Regions from separate parts of the Homo sapiens genome. Here regions 1 and 3 are each linked to region 2. The links are contacts of gene promoters, found by promoter capture Hi-C in blood cells and fetal thymus (Javierre and others, 2016). All regions are on one chromosome and are shown on one strand. Each heading gives the region's core, a stretch centred on a gene start or on the middle of the fragment in contact. The rest is flanking DNA. Distances are from core to core; before and after follow the strand shown.

The links. The method cuts DNA at HindIII sites, captures the fragments that hold promoters and counts their contacts. A CHiCAGO score of 5 or more calls a contact.
Region 1: a fragment that was not itself captured here is called in contact with the fragment with the promoter of OR13D1 in region 2 in 2 of 17 cell types (M2 macrophages and endothelial precursors); the score reaches 7.3 in M2 macrophages.
Region 3: a fragment that was not itself captured here is called in contact with the fragment with the promoter of OR13D1 in region 2 in 1 of 17 cell types (endothelial precursors); the score reaches 5.5 in endothelial precursors.

Annotation. Positions count from the first base shown.
Region 1 is chr9:101,670,760-101,674,774 of GRCh38, reverse strand. It overlaps GRIN3A (glutamate ionotropic receptor NMDA type subunit 3A), which reads left to right. Exons shown (of 9, transcript NM_133445.3): 3 at 3,668-4,015. Among named protein-coding and RNA genes, the nearest start is that of GRIN3A, 66 kb to the left of the region's middle. The HindIII fragment of the contact is 1,519 bases long and covers 1,222-2,740 here.
Region 2 is chr9:104,693,164-104,696,724 of GRCh38, reverse strand. It overlaps OR13D1 (olfactory receptor family 13 subfamily D member 1), which reads right to left and starts at 2,207. Exons shown (of 1, transcript NM_001004484.2): 1 at 1,263-2,207. The coding sequence starts at 2,207. The coding sequence ends at 1,263. The region is part of intron 1 of LOC107987105 (a long non-coding RNA gene); the gene reads left to right. The HindIII fragment of the contact is 5,977 bases long and covers 1-2,686 here.
Region 3 is chr9:101,689,810-101,693,577 of GRCh38, reverse strand. All of the region lies in intron 1 of GRIN3A (glutamate ionotropic receptor NMDA type subunit 3A), which reads left to right. Among named protein-coding and RNA genes, the nearest start is that of GRIN3A, 47 kb to the left of the region's middle. The HindIII fragment of the contact is 5,431 bases long and covers 1-3,768 here.

The DNA.
Region 1 (4,015 bases), core at 732-3,231, 3.0 Mb after region 2:
ACATTCCTGACTCTGGAAGATTTGTTTAGAGTTCATATCCAGGCTGGAGCAGTTATCTGATCAGCACAGAGAATGGTAGTATTACTGTTCCCTTTGATCCAGGCTCTAAATTTTTATTAAAGGAACTTAAGGTTACTTTTTTATACCCACATTGCTATATGGGCTTACATTGAGTTTATATTCAACTAAATACTAACAGGTCTTATTTATATGACCTTCTGTCAAGCTGAGTTCCACACATTCTTAGTAAAGTTTGCAACCCTGTACATTTGGCCCTCTTAAATCACTGCTTTCCTTTTTGAAAACAAAATATCTCTTGATTATACCATCTCCTCTCCATTTCTGCTACTGCCTTAGCCCTTACCACCTTAAGCCCTTTATGAGACTAGCAGAGAGAGAGTAAAAGAGGAAGCAAAAGAAAGAAGGAAGAAGCATTGTTCCTCACATGTGGACTTATGTTCAGTCCCCTCCTCCTTCCAAACTATGTCCTATATAACTAGCAAGGAAAAAAATCATTGTAAAATTAAATCGAATGATCATGACTCCCCCCAGACAAATTCCCCTCAATGCCTCCTTGTTGTCTTCACTGTAGCCTCAGATCTGATGTAATTCATTTCCTATCCTCATCTCCCTCCTTATTTTTCATCTCTTATCGTCAAACAGCTCACACTCTCTGTCTCTGGCCTTTGTATTTGTATTTCCTTGAGATGACAACATCATTTCCCAGCTTCTCTTCCTGGCTTACTGTAATTCCTTCTTCAAGACTCAGCTCTGGCACTTCCTCCTCTACGAAACTTTCCTTGGCACCCTATAGTAGAATGTGCAGGTGCTCTTGCTCTCTGTTCCAGTGACACCAGATTTACCTCTATCATGATGCCCATTATGCGGGTCTGAATTGCCTGCTCACTTTCTCTCTCCCCAGAATTAGACTTTGACCTTCTTGAGCTCCTTGAGACCAATGAGTTTGTCTTTCATCCCTGTAACTCTAGAGTTGGAAGAGTGCCCAGGAGTTTGTCAGTTTATGGTGCCAGTAAAACTATTCCTGATTTTTCTCCTTGTTTATCCAAGAAGAGTAAAGGGCAAGATAAAAAAGGAATGTGATGGAATTCAATTTAAGCAAAATCAGGATTTCAGCCTTTTGATATTTTAACTAATTTAGTGAGCATTTATATTTTGCTATGCATTGTCATTCCATTAGTACAGGTGACTATAATTAAAGCTTTCATGAGATTATTTTGATTCACCCTTATCGTAAGACTAAAAATGAAACAGACACAAATAATCTGTCATAAATGGTGATTCTCTGGGACCCAATTTTTTGGAGCCAGTAGTGAAACAAGCATTGGATTTTCTGGGCTGGGAAAACTGGAGATATTCAGGTCCCTATTGATTTGCCTTCTTTGGAAAATGACTGGCTCAAAGACAACTGGGCCTTGTCCCTCTATCATGGCCATCTTAAATGTTATTTAATACCAATAATCAGTAATAGGTTTTACTGGAATGACAGAGTTGTGTAATCTCTGGAAATTTTCTGAAGATTTCTAGTGCCTTTTTCTGATATGGTTTAAGCATATATTTGGTCAAAGGTACTCTCTCAAGGGTCCATCCAGTTAAGAATCTATAATCATTAAGCCTCAAACATTCTTAAAATAATGAAGGGTTCCTCTTTCCACAACTTCCTCTTTACTTTCCTGATCAGTAAATTGACCAGAAGAAATTAACCTACTTACTACTAACTGTTTATTTCTTATATCAGCAAGTATGTATATGTGTGTGTTTTAACAAATCTAAAAGTAGATTTCTTATAAACAAGTGTATCAGCTTTCCCTTATAGTACCTAGGTAATTATCAATTGATTAATCTGTATATTTTAATGATTTGGCTCCTTCTCTAAAGAAGCAGAAAACTACTTCAAAATCTAAGATAGCTGAGACTTCATTACTTGTTGCAAAATAGAATTTAAGTGGTAGAATCCCACTGGGGAGTACTAACATGAATAATTACCATTACAAACAATCTTCCAAAATGAACAGTTTCACTGCATTGATTGATAGTAGCATCTTCAAATGTGATTTACATTTATATCTCTAATGAAAATTAGTACGTACTTCACACTTTCTGATTTTTCTATGTCCCTTCTGTGGCAACATAATGTCTTATTTCTTCTATTTGTATTTGTAAATTATAGAGTAATATTTGTGACAGGCAATGGGTGAATATGTTTTGCTAAGAGCCTACACTTACATCATCTGATTTTTCAAAATACCTACTGTGTTCCACTCTACATTTCAATTTAATTTCTTTTAATTTGAAATGTGTCTTGAGTAACTGCCATGGATTTATCATAATGCAATACTTTGTGTTTCCCACTTTTAAAATTGTATTAAAATTATTGGAAAAAGTAACCTGGAGACAGCCTTGACTGAAAAAAACTTGAATGACATTAAGTCAGAGTTACCATATCTGGAATATTTGTTCCAAGTTAGATGTAGCATGTGCTTTACATAAATTATTTCCAACTCTTGTAATGAAGGAAGTATTTTCTCTATTTTGCTGGTGACAAAACTAAAGCATAGAGTTAAGTAAATTGTTCAAGTAAATTGTTCAAGGGCCATGTTAGCAGGTGGCTAGACCAATATTCAAATGGGGGTGGATCTGATGCCAAAGCCTGGGCTTTTATTCTAACACAAGGCCACAAGCCACATTAATCTTTATTATTGCCATTAATATGCCACAAGCTTATATGTTACCTCTTACTGTCTAATCTTCCCAGACTCAAAAAAGACATAGGCTAAGACCAAGCCATATTAGTCTAGTTTTTCTGTCTAGTCCATATCAGAACATATACTGTAAGTGCCCTAGTTCACAGGGTTAGGAATCACTATATTATTTAGTTGGTAATTTTCCTTTCTGTGGCTTCTGGCATAAGCTCTCTCTAGAACCAGGGCCAATTGTTTCTCTCTAATGACTTGGAGGGAGGCTAGCCTGAGGCTATCCTTAAAAGTGCAAGTTGATTTATCATCTTTTCCTTTGTTCCATGGATGAGATCCAACATGCAGCTTCAACTAGCCTCACGGGGACAGTTATGTTAACTGATTTCATTCCACAAGAAGAAACATTGGTAACAAGATTTGGCTATTTTCTAATGTTATGAATGCAGTGTTTAAGCAATTATTAAAGTATATGCATACTTTTTAATCTCATTCCCTGTGCCAAATATCTAGATAGATCGATAGATACATAGATAAATAGAAGGTGTAGTTACAATTGAACATAGTCAACAATAGAAATAGGATATGTTAAAGATGCTGAAAACCTCCATAGCTTGAAAAGTTGTGAGAATATGCAATTAACAGTTTACAACAGAAAATGGTTAACACATCTCTTAACTAGGAATTAAAACATTTGGAGTAAGACTAAGAGTCAAGCACCTGGCTAGAATATTAGAACCTGAGAGTGAAATCTCATTTGCTTAGTGCAATAGGACTTTACTCCTATAATAGAGAATGAGTCCAGCTTATTAACATTTGAAGAAATTATAGGCACTGTCTTTTTAAATAAAAATTCGAATTTATTTTTATTAAGACAAGGAAGCAAAGCTGAACACTGCTTCCTATCTTAGGCCTCACTGCTTTTCTTACTTTTTGCCTTTGCTCCTCTTTCCCAGGTTTCTAGCCAATACCACTTTCAGAGGCCTCAGTGGTTCCATCAGAGTAAAAGGTTCCACCATCGTCAGCTCAGAAAACAACTTTTTCATCTGGAATCTTCAACATGACCCCATGGGAAAGCCAATGTGGACCCGCTTGGGCAGCTGGCAGGGGGGAAAGATTGTCATGGACTATGGAATATGGCCAGAGCAGGCCCAGAGACACAAAACCCACTTCCAACATCCAAGTAAGCTACACTTGAGAGTGGTTACCCTGATTGAGCATCCTTTTGTCTTCACAAGGGAGGTAGATGATGAAGGCTTGTGCCCTGCTGGCCAACTCTGTCTAGACCCCATGACTAATGACTC
Region 2 (3,561 bases), core at 958-3,457:
TTGGGGAGATGACTGAAATGCCTGAAGTAATGCAGAATAGAGGTTAGATTATTGTAATTTAGTTATTAATGAGAAAGGGAACTCCTACAGGCTGGAGAACTTGGAACCTCTCAGATTACATACCTTGTTATTATTATTATTGCCTTAAAATGTAAGAGGATGGAGAGGAAGATAGGACAAAGGAATATATTAGGATTTATTTTGTCGTATGTGGTAAAATCCAGGTCAAATTAGTTTTTCATAAAATGCTAATTTGACTCATAAATAAAATCTGCAACGGTGAATCTGGCTTTAGCTACAGCTGCGTTCAAGAGTTAAAGTGACACCATCAAGCACACTCTGTATCTCAGCTCTGCTTTCATTCTCATGCTGTCCTCACATATTGGCAATGGTTGCCAGTAGGAATTCTGAGTTAACATTCTACCAGTTTAGACACCATTTCAAAAAACAGTGTGTCTTTCTGACAAAGGCAGCATTCCTGGGATGGAGTCTAATTAGTATGGCTCGGGTCACATCCTGCACTATACCAATCACTATGACTAGAGGAATTAGACATCCTTTCTTTCTTTCTTTCTTTCTTTCTTTCTTTCTTTCTTTCTTTCTTTCTTTCTTTCTTTTTTTTTTTTTTTTTTGCCAAGACCTCTTCCATGCTTATCTTTATTTTCAGAGGTTTGGGTCAGCCCCACCATGTACAACATAGACTGAGAGTGGGGGACTTTGGTTCATTAAAAGAAAAATATACATCTTTCTATTAATATATATTATGCAGATCTGTCAATTGGGTGGCAATATTGTGCAGGGATGCTGCACAACAACTATATATCCACTTCAAAGTGACTGAGAAAGGAGACAACAGAAAAGAAAGGAAGAGAAAGAAAATATACGGAGGAGAGGAGAGAGAGTAGCAGAATAGAGAGAGAGGACAAAATCAGAGGAGTAGAGAGAGACACACACATGGCAGGAGAGAGAAGAAAGAGAGACAGACAGAGAGAGAGACTGAGTGAGAGAGAGAGATTCATTTTAATGGACAGCATCAATATTTTTATAGGGCCAGTTTGCAGAACTGCTTACAGCTACAAACCCAGCAGACAAGGCACTATTAAGAAGGTTACATGAGCATGAAAATTCTACGTTGAAAAGAATGGGAATCTAATAGTTGGTTTTGCAAACACACAAGCTCTCGTGACAGTAGGTTTTGCAGTATCTAAATACAAAAGACAAGCTCTCTTGCCCCATTGAGGATATCGCATGCCCAAGGTTTTTCACATTTTCAATAAATGCAGATGTCTGCTCAGGACTTTCTTTACAGCCTCTTTGACCTCTTTATTCCTGAGGCTATAGATGATGGGATTTAACATTGGGCTTACCACTCCATAAGACAGCCCAATAATCTCATCAGATGTATTAGTGTTCTTTGACTTGGGTTTCATGTACATAAAAAGGGCTGAACCGTAGAATAAGATGACCACAATCGAGTGCGCTGAACAGGTAGAGAAGGCTTTCTTTCTTCCCTCAGCACAATTAATTCTCAGGATGGAAGAGAGAATAAACACATAGGAGATGAAAATTAACAGTAGAAGAATCACCAGTGAAACAATATTTGTCACTGTCATGATAAGCACATTGATGGTGATATCTGAACAAACAAGTTTTAGAAGGGCCAAAATTTCACAGGTAATATGATCAATGACATTATTCCCACAGAAAGGCAACATCATTGTCAGAACTGTTTGCAATAGGGAGGTCAGACAGCCTATGATCCAGGACCATGCAGCCATTTGCACATACAGCACTCCGTTCATGATGATGGAGTACCTCAGTGGGTTGCAGATGGCCACATAGTGGTCATAGGCCATCACAGCCAGGAGGACACACTCAGTGGAGCCCAAGCCAAGGGACACAACCATCTGCAGAGCACAGCCAATGAAGGAGATGGATTTTCTCTCAGACATAAATATAATAAGCATTGGAGGAATGGATGAGGATGTGTAACAGATGTCCAAGAATGAGAGGTTTCCAAGAAAGAAATACATGGGAGTATGGAGGCGAGAATCCAAGATGGTGATGATAATGAGGAGGCTATTTCCCAGGAGGATTATCATGTACATGATGAGGCAGAGCAGGAACAGAAAAAGCTGGAGCTCTGGATATTGGGAAAGCCCCACCAGAAAGAATTCAGTCATGGCAGAGTAATTTCTTGTCTCCATGTGTTCTAGGTCACCTGCCTGCTGGGTAGTATAGAAAAGGACATGATTCAGGTAAATTGAAATGTTTGATACATCAAAATCTGTAAATCTGTACATCTACAAATTTTCAATACAAATTTGCTTCCGATATTGTGTTTGATTCTTAGAATACTCTCAGTAAGCAAAACAGTATGGATATTGTACTAGTTTTATTGATTATGAAAATTGAGACATTGAGAAACCCAATATATCTTAGGACTACACAGCAGCACATTCAAAGCTACCAATACTGCCAGAATTATTCTGGGAAGTGTCAAATAAAGTTTAGGAACATGCTGCTTTCAAATGTAGAAAGAGATTTTGAACTTAAAGCTGTTTTTTTGATGAAGCTGGCCTCTATTTAAAAGATTTTATAGACTGCCAGTGACATATCATTTAACCTGGATGTAGCTTTGGTAAGTTGTTTATTTTTCTGAGTTGCAGATAGTTCATAGTAAGCTTGGAAAAAGCAATAATTATTTCTTAGAGTATAGTTAGAATTAGATAAAATATTAGGTGCCTAGAACCTAATGGTTCCAACATGGCATATGTGTGTGTGTGTGTGTGTATGCATATATGTAATATAATTATATTTACCTTATACAAGATATAATATTAAATGTATTTTTATACACATGCATTTTATGAATTATAGTATAATATTTAGATCTACCAATCTTAAAAGGGAAAAGTAGATTTAGCTTTTTAAAGGTAAAAGGTTTAAAGTTTGAAACCACACTTGACAGACTGTGAACATTTTTGTTCTCAGTGGGATATTTCATTGCACTTCTTTCAAAAACCTGTTAGGAGTCTGAGAATCATTGGAGGACTGTTCTAGAAGCTTCCAGAGATTAAGGAGTCTAGGTCCCAGCATGTACAGCTTTTTTTCCAGGCCCTGGGATTCTCTCTTCTTAAGTGTAGTATTACTGCCATTTTACAAAGTAGGAAACAGAGACAAAGAAAAGTTTAAGTAACTTTCTCAAGGTCATACAGATAGTAAATACTAAAGCCAGAATTCAATATCTAGCCATCTGGCTATAGAATCAGCCCTTTTACCCACCATACACTACTCTCTCTCAGTGGTTACTACACAGATTCCACGCAAGAGAAGACTATTACAAAAATGTATCTTCTGTTGGGGTACAGTGAGACAGCAAACATCATTTACTTGTGATTCTGATCATATGTGATGTGATGGAGAACTCTGAAGGCTGGACCACTTACTTTTTCCTGTAGCTTTTGATTGTGGTCTGCTCAGTTTTCTTTTCTTTTCTCTCGCTGTTTTTTTTTTTTTTTTTTTTTTTTAAGACGGAATCTTGCTCTGTTGCTTGGGCTG
Region 3 (3,768 bases), core at 587-3,086, 3.0 Mb after region 2:
GCAAATAATTGGAAATTATTAAATCTACAAATGTCAAGGATCTACTGCACATGTTGCTTTTATCAAGTAGAGGGAACAGTATAGAATAATAGGTAAAAGCACAGGCTTTTGAGTCCAACAAATTGTGGTTTTGAATTCAGGCTCTATTTTTTTTTTCTTTTAGACAGAGTCTCACTCTGCACCCAGGCTGAAGTGCAGTGGCACAATCTTGACTCACTGCAACCTCTGCCTCCAGACTCAAGCAACTCTCGTTCCTCAGTTTCCTGAGTAGCTGGGATTACAGGCACGTGTGACCCCTCCGTGCAATATATATATATATATATATATATATATTTTAGCTGAGATGGGGTTTCACCATCTTAGCCAGGCTGGTCTCAAACTCATGACCTCAGGTGATCTACCACCTCAGCCTCCCAAAGCACTGGAATTAAAGGCATGAGCCACTACACCTGGCCCAAGCTCTATTTCTTAGTAGCTGTGCCACCTTGGGAAAATTACTCACTTTTTCTGAACCTTGATTTTGTCTTCTATTAAAGGGGGATGATCATTGCAGTCACCTCATGAGGCCATTGTGAGGATGAAATAAAATAATATGCATAAGGCACTAGGGACATCAGTAGGTATTAGCTCTTCATTTGTATAATTATTATTAAATTACAATTTCTGGGCAGGGACTACACCTTATGCTTGTCTGTGTCCTTAATGTAACCATAAGAATAGTTAATTTATTTAAAAGCCTGGGCTGCTAAAGGAACAATCTTTAATTTTCAGAAGAAAAAGTCTTCTGTATAATATAGGTCAAATGAGATGTGAGATAATGAGAAACAGAAAACCTCCTGCAGCCTCTTTGGCTGAGGAGAAGCGATAGCTGTGTAGAAAGCCTGTTCTGAGCCTCTCAAATGTATTTAGTAATCAGCAGACGGATGAAAGGAAGGAAATTTCATCTCTGGTAAAAGCAGTGGAAACATTATGTTCACTTGAGCTTTTTGGGCTTTGACCTAGCTCATTTGGTTCCCCTTGCCCAGGAAAGAGCTGAGAGAATTGCATCTTTTCTCTTCTCTTAAACCCAGCCCCATCACCTCTTTTATTCAGTCAGGGAATATCTCAAAGCTCTGTGGCAAACTCTTTCCTGCAGGCAATCCTGTTTTTGAAACTCTTACTAATCCACAAACTAGCAGAATCTGTGCTCTCTGAGAGAACAAAGACTGATGAGGGATCTCCAGGAGTTGGCACCAAGAATTCCTTAACTTGCATGCTGACTGGTACTGGAGCTTGTTACTAAAGAAAGAAGAGTTGGGGGTGTGGGGAGGACTCTACTGTAAACATAGTATCTCCCAAATAAACAGCCTCTCCCAATATGTTACAGAGCACTTCTGTTTTCCTGCTGAGAAGTTGGTGTAATTTATGTTTGTAAAAGATATCTATTGCTGAGACCATTGTATGAAAATAGACAAGAAAAAGGAGAAGGAGCAAAAGCAAAGAAAAATACTGTATTGCAGTCAGTCACTTCCAACAGTGACTAAACTCTGTAAGTCAATTGTAACAACTACTACTTATGGGCCCTCACTCTGCGCCAGGCACTTTCCATGCATTCTCACATTCTTACATTTAATTCTCAAAATGAATCCATAAGTTAGGAAGTAGCATTGTCCTCATTTTAGAGATGAGGGAGGTATGACTCAGAGATACTAAATGACTTACAAAAGGCCACATGGTGCATAAATCATGGAGACAGAACTTAAGCATAGGTTGCCCTGACTACTAAGTCCTAACCTCTATACTGCTTCTCAAAAGAGGACAGAAAAGCCCAACTGCTGAAGAAGACAGTGGCCCCACCAGCAAGGAAAACTTAGAACTTAAGGACACTGTAGAACCTGCTGAAGAGGACAATGCAGAATCGCACAGGAAATATAGAAGCAGATGGTGGCTCCAACCATTTATCTGAGACTAGGAAGACAGTACCCAGTCAAAGAAGAATGGATGGTCAAAATGAGACTACATTTTTAGTTAAATGTGTTTACTTTTATAAATCATTATATATATTTACCTATATAGTGATCAATTGTTTTCAAATACATCTCGTTTTTTTCTTAAGTCCCAATTAAAGAACGCTTGTATAGTACAAATACTCGTCTCTCCCAACCCCTACAAATCATAATTACTAAATTAATATTTCCTAGTTTCTTCTTCCTCTCCTAGTTTTGCTGGACCCTATTATTTCATTTACAGTAATTTTCATGACTTCTAGTTATAGGAAGTGTTTATTCATATAGTTAGTTACATATTGTCTATCTCTCATCCACCATAGAGACAACAGGAAATGCCATGCAGAGGTCATGGCTCAAGGTAGGAGCTTAAAATTATTTTTCATGATTGAATAAGTGTTCAGTAAAGGCTTCTATTTCCTTATTGACTAGTAAATGTTTTATACATTTGGTGAACATTAACTCTTTGTCTACCCAATTTATTACTAATATTCTCTTGTTTTTCATGTTCCTTTATTTTTTATGATAGGTGTTTAAAACTAAAAATACGGTGTGCTGTGATAATTCAATGTTTTCCTTTTATTATTGTAATTTCTGATACATATTTACCTTTTGGTCTATCTTTTAATGATTTGATATTGTACTTTTAGCTCTTTAATGGCCTGGAACATATTTTTAATATATGATGTAATGAGAAATTTAATTGTTATTTTTCTAACTAATCTATTTTCTCAAATTCTAATATCCTATTTCCTTCCCTATTTCTTTGTTATTTTAATTTATAACACAGTAATTTAATACTCCATTAGTACCTATTAGTACCTATTAGTGCTTCCCTGTTTTAATTATTATTGCTTTATAAAAATGACATTTTCTAATGTGTTCTAATATCCTCCAAAGCAAGGCCTATCATTTTCTTTTTCCAAATATTTTTACCACTCTTGCCTGATTTTTCTGTATATGGAACTTTAATATTTACAGTCTGATCCATAGCGGGTTAAGCAATCTTCTCCCACACCACTGAATGATTCTTTGATGCTTTGAACCAACTTCTTGGTGACTCCTCTCTCCCTGCAGCTCTGCACTTACTTGGGATTTCATTCTACGAGTGCATGGCAGCACACACATTCCCCAGCCATATTTCCTGCCCTATTCTTTTGGAAATTTCAGGCTCTGAAACAATGTCTAACCAGATTATGATGGAACAAAACCTGCAAAATTAATGGAGTAGAGTGGAGTTTCATCTCCACTAGAAATGAAGATTCAATTCAAAGTGTAGAAAAATTACATTTTAAAATCTTTTAAATTACCTATTTAGCTTGACATATATGGTTTTGTGTATACAATATGAAAAATAATATAGCTACATTAAAGTATGTGATAATATAAATAATATACCATAATATAATAAGTAGCACACTTATTTAAGGGAATGAGAATTATCAGTACTATTTAAATTCATATTTTCTCCCTCCCACCTCTCTCTTCTGAGCCTGTTTATTTTAATATAGATAAATTGAATGTACCTATAAGGCAGTTTCACTCTATCTGCATGATAGAGACAGGCTTCCTATTTCTTGAGTTGTTCTGTTTCTGGATCTCTGATTTAGGAGAAAAACAATATGGAAATTACTTTTAAAATCTTTATATCTTCTTTCAGGCCATGAGCTTGCTCTTTTGCAAACAACAAACCATATGTAAGACACAGATTTTCCTTTTCAATTTTACTCAATAGGTCTTGTTTAATTTTTGTCCTGGATTTTGACAAAAATTTTACTATCAG